2 separate regions of the Homo sapiens genome follow, and region 2 is linked to region 1. The links are contacts of gene promoters, found by promoter capture Hi-C in blood cells and fetal thymus (Javierre and others, 2016). All regions are on one chromosome and are shown on one strand. Each heading gives the region's core, a stretch centred on a gene start or on the middle of the fragment in contact. The rest is flanking DNA. Distances are from core to core; before and after follow the strand shown.

Evidence for each region. The method cuts DNA at HindIII sites, captures the fragments that hold promoters and counts their contacts. A CHiCAGO score of 5 or more calls a contact.
Region 2: a contact is called between a fragment that was not itself captured here and the fragment with the promoter of ZNF229 in region 1, in 1 of 17 cell types (non-activated CD4 T cells). The highest score is 6.1, in non-activated CD4 T cells.

The regions. Positions count from the first base shown.
Region 1 is chr19:44,444,380-44,449,783 of GRCh38, forward strand. It overlaps ZNF229 (zinc finger protein 229), which reads right to left and starts at 4,093. Exons shown (of 6, transcript NM_014518.4): 1 at 3,930-4,093; 2 at 3,134-3,221. The HindIII fragment of the contact is 11,359 bases long and covers 1-5,404 here.
Region 2 is chr19:36,470,460-36,476,156 of GRCh38, forward strand. ZNF566 (zinc finger protein 566) reads right to left here. Exons shown (of 5, transcript NM_001145344.1): 3 at 2,873-2,999; 4 at 2,452-2,547. Among named protein-coding and RNA genes, the nearest start is that of ZNF566, 16 kb to the right of the region's middle. The HindIII fragment of the contact is 7,755 bases long and covers 1-5,697 here.

The sequences.
Region 1 (5,404 bases), core at 2,843-5,342:
AGCCCTCTGCATGGCCCACAGTGACAAGCATCTTTCTCTCTCCCTCCCTTCATGCACTGCCCTGAACTGGGGATTGCCCTTTGACCCAGGTGTGGACAACCAGGCAACACGCTACCCTCCTACACAAAGGACAAAGGGAAGAGTAGAGGCCAGATCTGAAACAAGGCCTCCACCGCAATGCCACTTAAACTCAAACTTCAGGATCCTCTAGGACTGCGCTTTGCAAACTTCAGTATGTTTAAAAATCACCATGAGCAATGATGAAAACAGACTGCTAGAGTCCAGCTCCAAAGATTCTAATTCTGTATCTCTGCAGTAGAGCCCAGGAGTCTGTGTTTTAAACGTTTCCAGGGGATGCTGACAAAGTGAGTCCAGGGGCCACACCTGAAGCAAACTTGCTAAGTTACCCTCACTTCCTCTGACTGGCTGATTTTCAGGGTTTCCAGAGACTTCCGGTGGGTAAAAATTTTCCTTGTGCTTCCTCCTCCTATCCCTGAACTCTTCAGGTCAGGAAGCCTCAAGAGTCAGCACATAAAGTTCTCTATCTTCTTTCACTCCCTTGGTGAACATATCCAGCCTCAGGCCTTCAACACAATCTACACACTGATGACTCCATGGCAACCTGCCATCTCCACTCTTATGTCTAAAAAGCAACTCAAAAAACATGTTCAAAAGAAAAGTCCAGATTTGCCCCTAGAGGTACTTCTCTCCTTTGAAATGAAGAGGAAATATTCTAGTCATCCTTGATTTCTTCCTCGTACTCTACATCCAATCCATCAGCAAATACCTACAAATCAGAACCAGAATCAGATTATTCTTGCTGCCACCGTCCACACCATCATGTCTCACCTGCATTAACGTGACAGCCCCCTAAATGGCCTCTGCATTCCTACTCCTGTTCGTTTCAGTCTACTTCCTACACAGCAGCTGGAGTGATCTTTTAAAAATATAAACTCATATTCTTCTCTGGCCAAAACCATCATTTTACTCAAAACCTTGCACCAAGGTCCTTTCAATGGCCCAAAGACCTTACACTATCTTCCTTCCCAATATTCAGTTTCCCACTTATCCTCCCTCTTTCTCATTCTGCTCAGCTCTGGCTTCCTTGCTGTTCTTCACATGCCCTCATCACCGGGCCTTCGTGTTGTTCTCTTTGCCTTTTTCATCAGATGCCTGCAGGCCCCTCACCTGCTTTGGGTCCCTATTCAAGCACCATTTTCTCAGTGAAATTCATCCCTCATTATCCTTCTCAAATTGGCAAACCAGCACTTCCTACACCCTCCTCTGCTTCATTTTTCTCCATGAAACTGACACCCTACCTACAGTCTATTTTTCTTGTTGACCATCTTTCTCCACCCACAAGAATGTGAACTCTATGAGGGCCAGTATTTCAGTTGGCACCTGGCACACAGCAGGTGCTCAATAAATATTTAAATGGGAGAACGGGAGTAACCTGAACTCAGCTTGCTGATATGGATCCTTGGGTCCTCTTGATGTCATCTTCACAGCAGAAGTGATTTTCTTCTCCAGTTCATGGACTTAGTAATTTGGGTGCTAAGGACTATGCTGGCTGTGTTGGGACCCAAGAGTGAACAGGGCAGACAACGACTCTGTGCTCATGCAGCTGCTAACATTCTAGGTGGAAATCAGCAGCCATAATGAATATCTACTGTGTTCCATGTGCTTAGGATACATTTCTGGACTGCATGGAGCTCACATTGGGGGAGAAAGAGGGTGACAGAAAGAGTTGGTACAAAGGCAGTGGGACAAAGAAGTAATGGGAATAAGAGATAATTGCAGAGGTAGAAATAACAAAACTAAAAGAATAATTCCATGTAGGGATGAAGAGGAGGAGAAATAAATATGATTCTGAGGTTGAAGTCTGAGGAAAACAGGTAAATTATGAAGTTATGATAAAATAATAAGATAGCAAAAGGGAAAGCAGGGTTTTGAAAATTGCAGCTCTAGTTTCTCAAAACTGGAGTTATCAAAAGGTTTAGGTTCGAATTCTGGTTCAGCCACTTTGTAGTTATATTAACACCACAGGAGAGACTTAACCTTTTGAATGAGTCTGTACTTCTGTCAAATAAAGATAATCCTTACTTGCAAAACTAAAATAATTTAAGTTTTTCTCTCTTTCACACACACATGCCTATGTGAATAAACTTCAAAGCCCAGTACGTGGTACACAGAAAATCATCAATATACTATTACCATTGACCCAACCCAGCATTAACCTAGGAATACAGGAACTCATGCATTTAGTAAATGTACATTCAGTGTCTAACAACATCTTAGGAGAATAAACACTAGACATACAGCAGTAAATTAAGATGGAAAAGGTAATTGTTCTCATGGTGCTTACTTTCGGGTGGGTTAATCTCTCTACAAATTAGGTGACCTTTGGTTGCAAAAAGGGCTATGAAGAAAATAAAGCAAACATGATAGATTCCTGTTTTCCAACAAGAATGTAGGTGCTATCAGGTGAACATATGTGGCAGCTGTGGAAAGAGCAACATTAAATCAGGTGGTCAGGGACAGTCTCTAAGAGCTGCCTGACAAATAAATCAGCTGTGAAAAAAGCTGGGATGAGACAAGTCCAGAAGGAAGCATAAGCGCAAAGACCTGGTTTCTGTTTAGAAGGTCTCCTGGCCAGGTCTTACCTGTTAAGTTTTTTTAACTTTTTAAACCTTAGCAACTCATCTGTGACATGGGGATAATAGCTAACATACAAACTTGCTCAGAAAATTCAATAGAAATACATTCATTTATTCAAATATTTATTGGCAAGCCTGGCACTGTCCTAGACACCATGGATAAATAATACCTGGCATATAGTAAGCACTCAGTTAATATACACCATCACAGTTACTCTAATTATTTCTACCCTGCGTTTCTTCAGCATGGCGCTGAAACAGTGTAAGCCTTTACTGACCCAGTGACACACTACTAGGAGCCAAGAAGAGAATACACTAAATAAAGACACTGGGAAATTCCTCAAACCTCCCCCATTTCTAGGGGAAGGCAGGTGTGGCTAAGGGGTCTGAATGAACATTTGTGATATCAATGGGATGAAGAATGAGGTCACCAAGAGACCTGGCATTGCCACAAAAGAGAACCAAAGTTCACTCACCTGGAGCTCTAGTGTCAAGAGATGTGGGGTTATTTCTCCTTCTTTTATACAATTATCTCCGAGAAACGAACAATTCCAAGAAGGAAGCCTGTGAAAGAAAAATGAACAGCAGGATAACATGATTTAATCCCAATTCCCACCACGCCACAGGGGGAAATCTCTCAGTGCCAGCTGGATGTAATCTACCCCTTCCTGTAATCTACCCTCGCTACTTGCTTCAGGAGCCGAGGAAAAGAACCTCTCTTCCTACAGGACTCAGAGTACAAGGGACACGCCATTCCTGATGCCCAAAGAAACCGTCTACAAGCCTACTTTCACTGCCCCTTTCAGGAGACAAGGAGAATCAAGACAAAATCTCAAGATTTTAATCCAGAGCTGACTGTCACATGCTGTGGGACACTTACAAGTGAAATTCTGCCTGTGTGTGCTTAGGCGGCTACAAAAAGCAGAGCCAGCAACGATACAGCAAACCAACTCCTAGGACTTGCACAGCGCTTAATACATTTCAAAGGATAAAATTAGAACACAGGGAATCAACTTCCTGTTTACAGAAATGACTTCGCAGAAAACTCTGAAATTACTCCACAAGTGGGTGGGCGGCTACCCTGAGAAAATTCATGTCATCGATCCGCAACTGACACAGTGGAGTCTCCCGCACTGCAGATCTCATCTCAAAGCCAGAGCTGGCCTCAAACTGCTTTTCCAAGCCTGGACTGCGAGGGCTGCCGACCCGGGCCCACCCCGCACAGGCGCTCAGAATGTTCGATACGTGCGCCTCCTTACACCCCTGCCTCACCAGGCCGAGCTCATGGAAATCCGTGGGCTTCGACCCTCCGCCGCACGTTGTCCCTTCACACTGGTCCTATAGAGCCGATCCTAATTCCCATGGCCTGACAGTACAACCGCATGGAGATGCACGTCTCTAAGACGCCTCACCACTGCCTAAGAAGCAATCAAGGTGACGCGCCCACCGGAAACGGAAGTAGTCGACTCGAGGTGTGGGACTACCTTTCCCAGAACCCTCCGCAGCGCAGTCCGATCCTAGGGGCGATGGTGTCGTAAATGCGCGTCCACCTCGAGTCACGCCCACTGCGAGGCGGCGGGAGGCGGCATGCAAGGTGTTTCTGAGTTGAAAAGAATGTCTTTACTCAGTACTAACATATTCGCGTTGTAGCAAACCTGACTATATTCTCAAACAAGCCCATCATCCCATCACCAGGGATATAAAGCATTATTGATTTTCTGGTGTAAAAGCCAACTAAATATTTATTTCAAAAGTAGTTCATATTACATGTAAAGAATGGTTTAAAAAAAATTCTTACTTAATCCCTGGTTTATGTGAGTAAATATGAATTCTTAAGAATCCCATTTCCCAAATGGCATCATAATATTTTGTAATCATTTCTTGCCACAGGTCATATATCGTGGATAGTTCTGTATGTCACAAAAGACGTAGAGATACATAGAGATAATAAAAAAACACAAATTATTTGCAATACTTGCCTAGCATTCTTTAGTTTTTAGGGAAGTTACCCCTTTGTCCTGCATTGAACTTACACTTCTAATTTTATGATATCAAAACTACACACAATCACTTTCTTTAATATTTTCCCAATTTGATGGACTAAATATCCTGTCTTATTTTCCCAATTTGACAGAGTAAATATGCTTATTACCGATTGCATTTCATTGTCATCTTTTATTGTCATACACTCTCTGTGTATGAATGATATCGCTTCTAAGTGATGAATTGCTCCCCCAGTTTCAACATTTATAAAGTAGTTTAGAAAAAAAAAAAAACAAAAAACTTCATCTGACAAGGTATATCAGTCTTTTCATTTGTGGCTTCTTTTTTTTCTCCAGTATGACCAAAAAGACATTCCTTAGCCTGATTCCCAATAAGTGCATATCTATATTCATTTCAGGCTCTTTCATTTTTCTTTTGAATCACCGCGTGATTCATTTAAGTGTATGATATGAAAGGAAGATGGAGTTTCCTGTTTCACCAAAGGATTGTCTACTTTTCTTAACAAAATTTACATAAATATTAATTCTTTCCTTTCTGATTTAAACGGCATCCTAATCACTTACTACATTACTATATATATAATGAAATATTTTCTGGGATACAAGTGTGTTCTGAAGATAGAGATTGCTTTTTCTGTGCCATGATGAAAGGTTTCAGTTACAGTGATAACTCATTTCCTTATCTCTCCCTCCTTGTTGTGTTTCAAAAATTTCATCCTAGAAGTTCTAGAACTCTCTCTTATA
Region 2 (5,697 bases), core at 2,457-4,956, 8.0 Mb before region 1:
CAAACCCACCGCTTCCTTCCACTGCCACTGATAACATTTCAATGGTCTCTGAGCCATCACTGTATCTCAACCAGACTACTACAAAAACCTGCTAAACAGCCACTCTGCTTCCAATCTTGCCACCTACAAAGCAGCCAGGGAAATCTTTTTAAAATATATGTTGCATCAAGGACAGGCGCAGTGGCTCACACCTGTTATCCCAGCACGTTGGGAGGCCGAGGTGGGAGGATCACCTGAGGTCAGGATTTCGAGACCAGCCTGGCCAACATGGTGAAACACTGTCTCTACTAAAATACAAAAATTAGCTGGGCATGGTGGCGGGTGCCTGTAATCCCAGCTACTCGGGAGGATGAGGCACGAGAATCGCTTGAACCCAGGAGGTGGAGCTTGCAGTGAGCCAAGATCATGCCACTGCACTCCAGCCTGGGTGACAGAGCAAGACTCCATCTCAAACAAAAACAAAAACATGGCCGGTGTGGTGGCTCACGCCTGTAATCCCAGCACTTTGGGAGGCCAAGGCAGGTGGATCACAAGGTCAGGAGATTGAGATCATCCTGGCTAACATGGTGAAACCCTGTCTCTACTGAAAAAAAAATACAAAAAAATTAGCCGGGCATGGTGGCACGCACCTGTAATCCCAACTACTCGGGAGGCTGAGGCAGGAGAATCGCTTGAACCTGGGAAGCGGAGGTTGCAGTGAGCCGAGATCATGCCACTGCACTCCAGCTTGGGCGACAGAGCGAGACTCTGTCTCAAAAAAAAAAAAAAAAAAATAATGAGTTGCATCAAGCCATTTCTAGGTGCACAGCCTTCTGATGACTTCTTGTCTTAGAATGAAAAGATTTCCCATGGCCTGTATGGCAGACAGTACATAAACTGACCCACTCTTTCCCACTCCTGCCTCTTTGATCTCATCTCCCACCCACGTACCCCTCTGCTCTCACTCCTCCAGTCACTGGCCTCTGGGGCTGCTCCTCAAACACAGCCAACGCACAGCTGCCTCAGGCCCTTGAAGGTCTGCATTCCTCCATCTGGAGTGGTCCTCCGCCCAGTACAGTAACTTACTATGGTGCTTCTTCAGGTCTCTGCCCAAACGTTACCATATCATTTAGTAAGATATGGTAAATTTCTCTTGCCCCTTCACATAAAATATCATCCTTTATCCCCTTCCTCTACTTCTTATTTCTTTTAGTATTTACTATTACCTGGTATGTTATATATTCATCTATTTTCATGTCTCTCCCTACACTGTGGGGTAGGTTCTGGGAACAGAGATTATGCATGTTCTTTTTTTTCTTTTTTTGAGAGAGTCTCTCTCTGTCACTCAGGCTGGAGTGCAGTGGCGTAATCTTGGCTCACTGCAACCTCCACCTCCTGGGTACAAGTGATTCTCCTGCCTCAGCCTCCTGAGTAGCTGGGATTACAGGCGCATGCTACCACACCCAGCTGATTTTTGTATTTTTTAGTAGAGATGGGGTTTCATCATGTTGGCCAGGCTGGTCTTGAACTCCTGATCTCAGGCAATCCTCCTGCTTCAGCCTCCCAAAGTGCTGGGATTACAGGGGTGAGCCACTGCACCCAATCACGCATGTTCTATTCATTACTGTAACCTCAGTGTTGAGAATAGTGCTGGGCATACCATAGTCACTACAGAGACATAAACTAAATGAATGAATGTGCTGTTCTGTTCCTCCTCCTTCATACCAAATCTCTCTTTGCCAGCTCTTACCTTCTCCATGGAGACACAGGCCCTTTATTTCCAACCCTCTATATAAAGTCAATGATGCTTACACCAAAAATCTCCCCCTATGACTTCTATGTGGATCAACCCCTCTTCTACCTCGTTAGCCCTCACTTTCTGCTAAGCTCCCTATTTTAACTTCGCTTATGGTGGTGTTATTTGTAGACATGTTCTAGTACTTCTACTAGGCAGTAAGTTCTGAAATTGCTTATTCCTTTTTTAAACTCTGCAGCACCTAGCTGAGTGCCTTATACATGTTAGAAAATCAGTAAATGTTGGTAAAAAATATGAATGAATCAATGAGGGCATAAACCCCTATCCCAAAAAACTTAGTAAAAGCAAATAAGTCTTTGGCAGTGTAGGAAAAAATCTATTTCTGGAGACAGTGATGCTTTTATTAGACTAAATACAAAGGAGGATGAGAAGCTAGGAAGGAAATGGATCCAAAATATGGATAGAAAAGAATATCACTAGAAAGGGTGGAGGAGGGCACCAGCTGGTTAGAACTGAGAGAGAAGGATAAGAGGAGAAAAGCAGGCAAAGTGTGTTAGGTAAAGGGGAAAGGTAGGATCATTTGAAAGCTCATGTAGAAAAGGTCTTACATTTGCACAACAGGCCAAAAGCCTGTGAGGAGAGTTTCCCAGATAGCATCTAAAAGATGCAGTCTCTCTACCAGCCAAATCACGCATTACCTGCTGTGCCTCACTTACCTGGCCACTGGCCTCTTGTTAGCTCTCTGTCAGCCAACCAGGGCTCCTTCCCTTGCTCCAAGTAGGAGATCACATTTGGTTTAGAAATAGAATGCCCTGCTTACAAAAGAAGTAACAAAACAAATTTATCATGAGCATATCCTAGAATTCAAATCCAGTCCCTTCATTATAAAGAAAGACATGGCATTATGAGAAGAGTCAAAGAGAGGTACAACGGACTTATGAAACATAACGGAAGATGTAAAACATCCCCAAAAACTCAATGCAGCTTCCTTTTTCTAACTCTACCATATTCAGAACATTCCTGTGGAACAGGATATCAAAATTCGACTGGTTTTTGAAAGCCAGGTGAGCATTTCACATTGGAGGAAGTAGGCCTTCCAAGGGCAGAATCTAAATTACTATGGACAGATGTCCTTACCCATTGAAACCAGGTTGCTGTAATTCTCCAACATCACATCTCTGTATAAATCTCTCTGATCATCATTCAGGCATTCCCACTCCTCCTGAGAGAAGTCTACGGACACATCACTGAACATCACTGACTCCTGGAACAATAACCACGTATATGACTTCATTAATTTTTTAAAAAGTACTTTTGTGAAGGAAAGAGAGAAGAAAAAGATTAAGGTAGAGGAAGTAAAATATAGTGAGCATATGAATGTCTGGGAAGCAGTGGAGGACTGTAAACAAATAAGCACAACTGAATCACTGGGTTTCCAGGTCATTCTGTTTCCTCCAAATGAAACTGCCTGAGTATGCTAGGATACCTCCATTATCCAAACAAGGTTGGGAAGGTACAAAAATTCAGCTAAGAGGGCTTTTCCAATTAAATGAAATTGTATATGCAATGCCTCACACTATACCTGTCATATAATAAATCAACGATACATGTGATCTTTCTCCCTCTCTTTTCCCAAATAGCTGAGAGTCAAATTTCAGAATAAGGGATAAAGACATTAAAAGCCACCAGAGAGAAGAGCAGGTCATATAAAAGGCATCAAAAATTAGAGGGGCAATGGAATTCTCAAGAACACCTCTAAAAGCAAGAAACAATAAGAACGATTCTTCAATATTCTGATGGAGAAAATAAACTCTGACCTAGACTTTCATAAACAAACTATCATTCTGTTTTGAGTGTTGAGAAAAGACATTTGTAGACATCCAAGGACTCAAGAAGAGTTTCTTCAGAAACTTCTAGAGGATGTGGTCCACAAAAACGAGGGAGTAAACAAAAAAAGAAGACAACATAGGATTCAGGAAGTAGGTAAAGTTTCAGGAAAGCTGTGACTGAGAGAGTAAACCAGACCAGATGGGAACAAGGAAACAGGAAATGGGGAATCAAGTCTCTATATCAAAAGGAACTGATGTGTCTGACCAGAGGGAAAACGTATTGATTGGCCTGTGGCAATGATGCTGGAGATTCTGGATATAAACACACAAATGACTAGGCAAATGAGGGGGGAAGCAATTAACCCCAGGAAAATGAAGGGTTGTATAGAACAAAGCCATGAGCTCGCTTGGCAGAGAATAATATTTGCAGCCGTAATAAGGTGTATACTATTGATTTAACCAAAAATGGTGATATGGTAACAGTCAGGAAAAACGAAAGTGCAGTATGGGAATACAATGTTCCCTTTAACTTTGCAATCAGTCAAGAGATAATGACTAAAGTGGGTTTATCGAAAAATGGTAGTAAACCAATTTTCAAGAGTTGAGGGCAGTGGCCTCTTGGAGTGGGTCTGGTAACGGGACAAAACCAGAATTGAACTATTTCCCTTGTAGACATGTGTAAAATTACTTTTAAAAACTTTGTATCTTAGAAAATTAAATTTGCATATAATTTAAGACTCTGATCCATTCCTATGCCAGACTATTATATAATAAGAAATATTCCTTGTTACAACAAATGCTATTCATATGTTTCTCACTGAATACTATTCTATTATAAGGCTATAAATGACATCTATCCTTTTGCCTTTAGAAATTCAGGCTAGAGGTGATCTCTAAAGACCTCGCCAACATTGGCCCAATCTTATTTATAACCACCTACTGCCCAGCTGTAAATTCCCCTTATAACTAAGCTACAGAAAACTGGTGAAGGATGATCCAGTTTCACCGTTGGTATTACTGACATCATTGCTTTTGTTTTTTAAACAGGATCTTCCTCTATCACCCAGGCCAAAGTGCAGTGGCATGATCACATCTCACTGCAGCCATGACTTCCTGGGCTCAAGTGATCCTCCCACCTCAGCCTCCCGAGTAGCTGGGACTACAGGCGTGCACCAACATGCCTGGCTAATTTTTGTATTTTTTGTAGAGATGGGGTTTGCCATGTTGCCCAGGCTAGTCACCTGGGTTCAAGCAAACCACCAGCCTCAACCTCCCAAAATGCTGGAATTACAGGTGTGAGTCACCACGTTTGGCCACTGACATCAATTTTTCATGGATGCTTAGTGAGGTGTGAGAGCTTTGTAACAACCACTAGTCACACTCTCAAACATAAAAGGCTCGTTAACCAGGAGACCTTGCCATGTACTAGGACTGAAATCAAACAAAACCACAGCATGTATTTTCTTATTGGAAAACCCAGGTCTACAGAGCTAATGAGGGCTTTTCCCTATAAGGTGCCCCTAATTACTTATTTTCATCCCATCAAATCACTGTCCAAGCAAATTAAATTCATATTAATTCAATGTGGGGAACACATTTCTGCCCTATCAGGATTTTTGGTAGAAATCTGAGATAGGAGATGCTGAAGGACTTGTAAACCAGCATGTAAACATTGTTTAAAAGCGGGGGGCGGCGGGGAACTGAAGAGGAGACTGGGGTTGTTTAGGAGGAAATGCATGTCCTTTTCCTGACAGGGGACCCTGGAAACCAGTGTAAAAAAAATTATTCCAAACCTGATCTGGGTCAGGTTTTTACATTACATAATTTTTACATTACATAATTCTTAAATCTCTTTATGGAAAGAAAGAAATAAGTATTCTTGATGAAACTGATAGGGGATTTTCTGATGGACATTAATCTAAATTAAAACTTCTTCAGAGAAATTTGTTATTCAACCACTTGGCTGACTAACAGTTAACAGTGAATTAATATAAATTTTTTTCTGGGCACAGTGGCTCATGCTTATAATCCCAGCTCTTTGGGAGGCTGAGGCGGGTGGATAACTTGAGGTCAGGAATTCGAGGCCAGCCTGGACAACATGGCAAAAACTCATCTCTACTAAAAATACAAAAA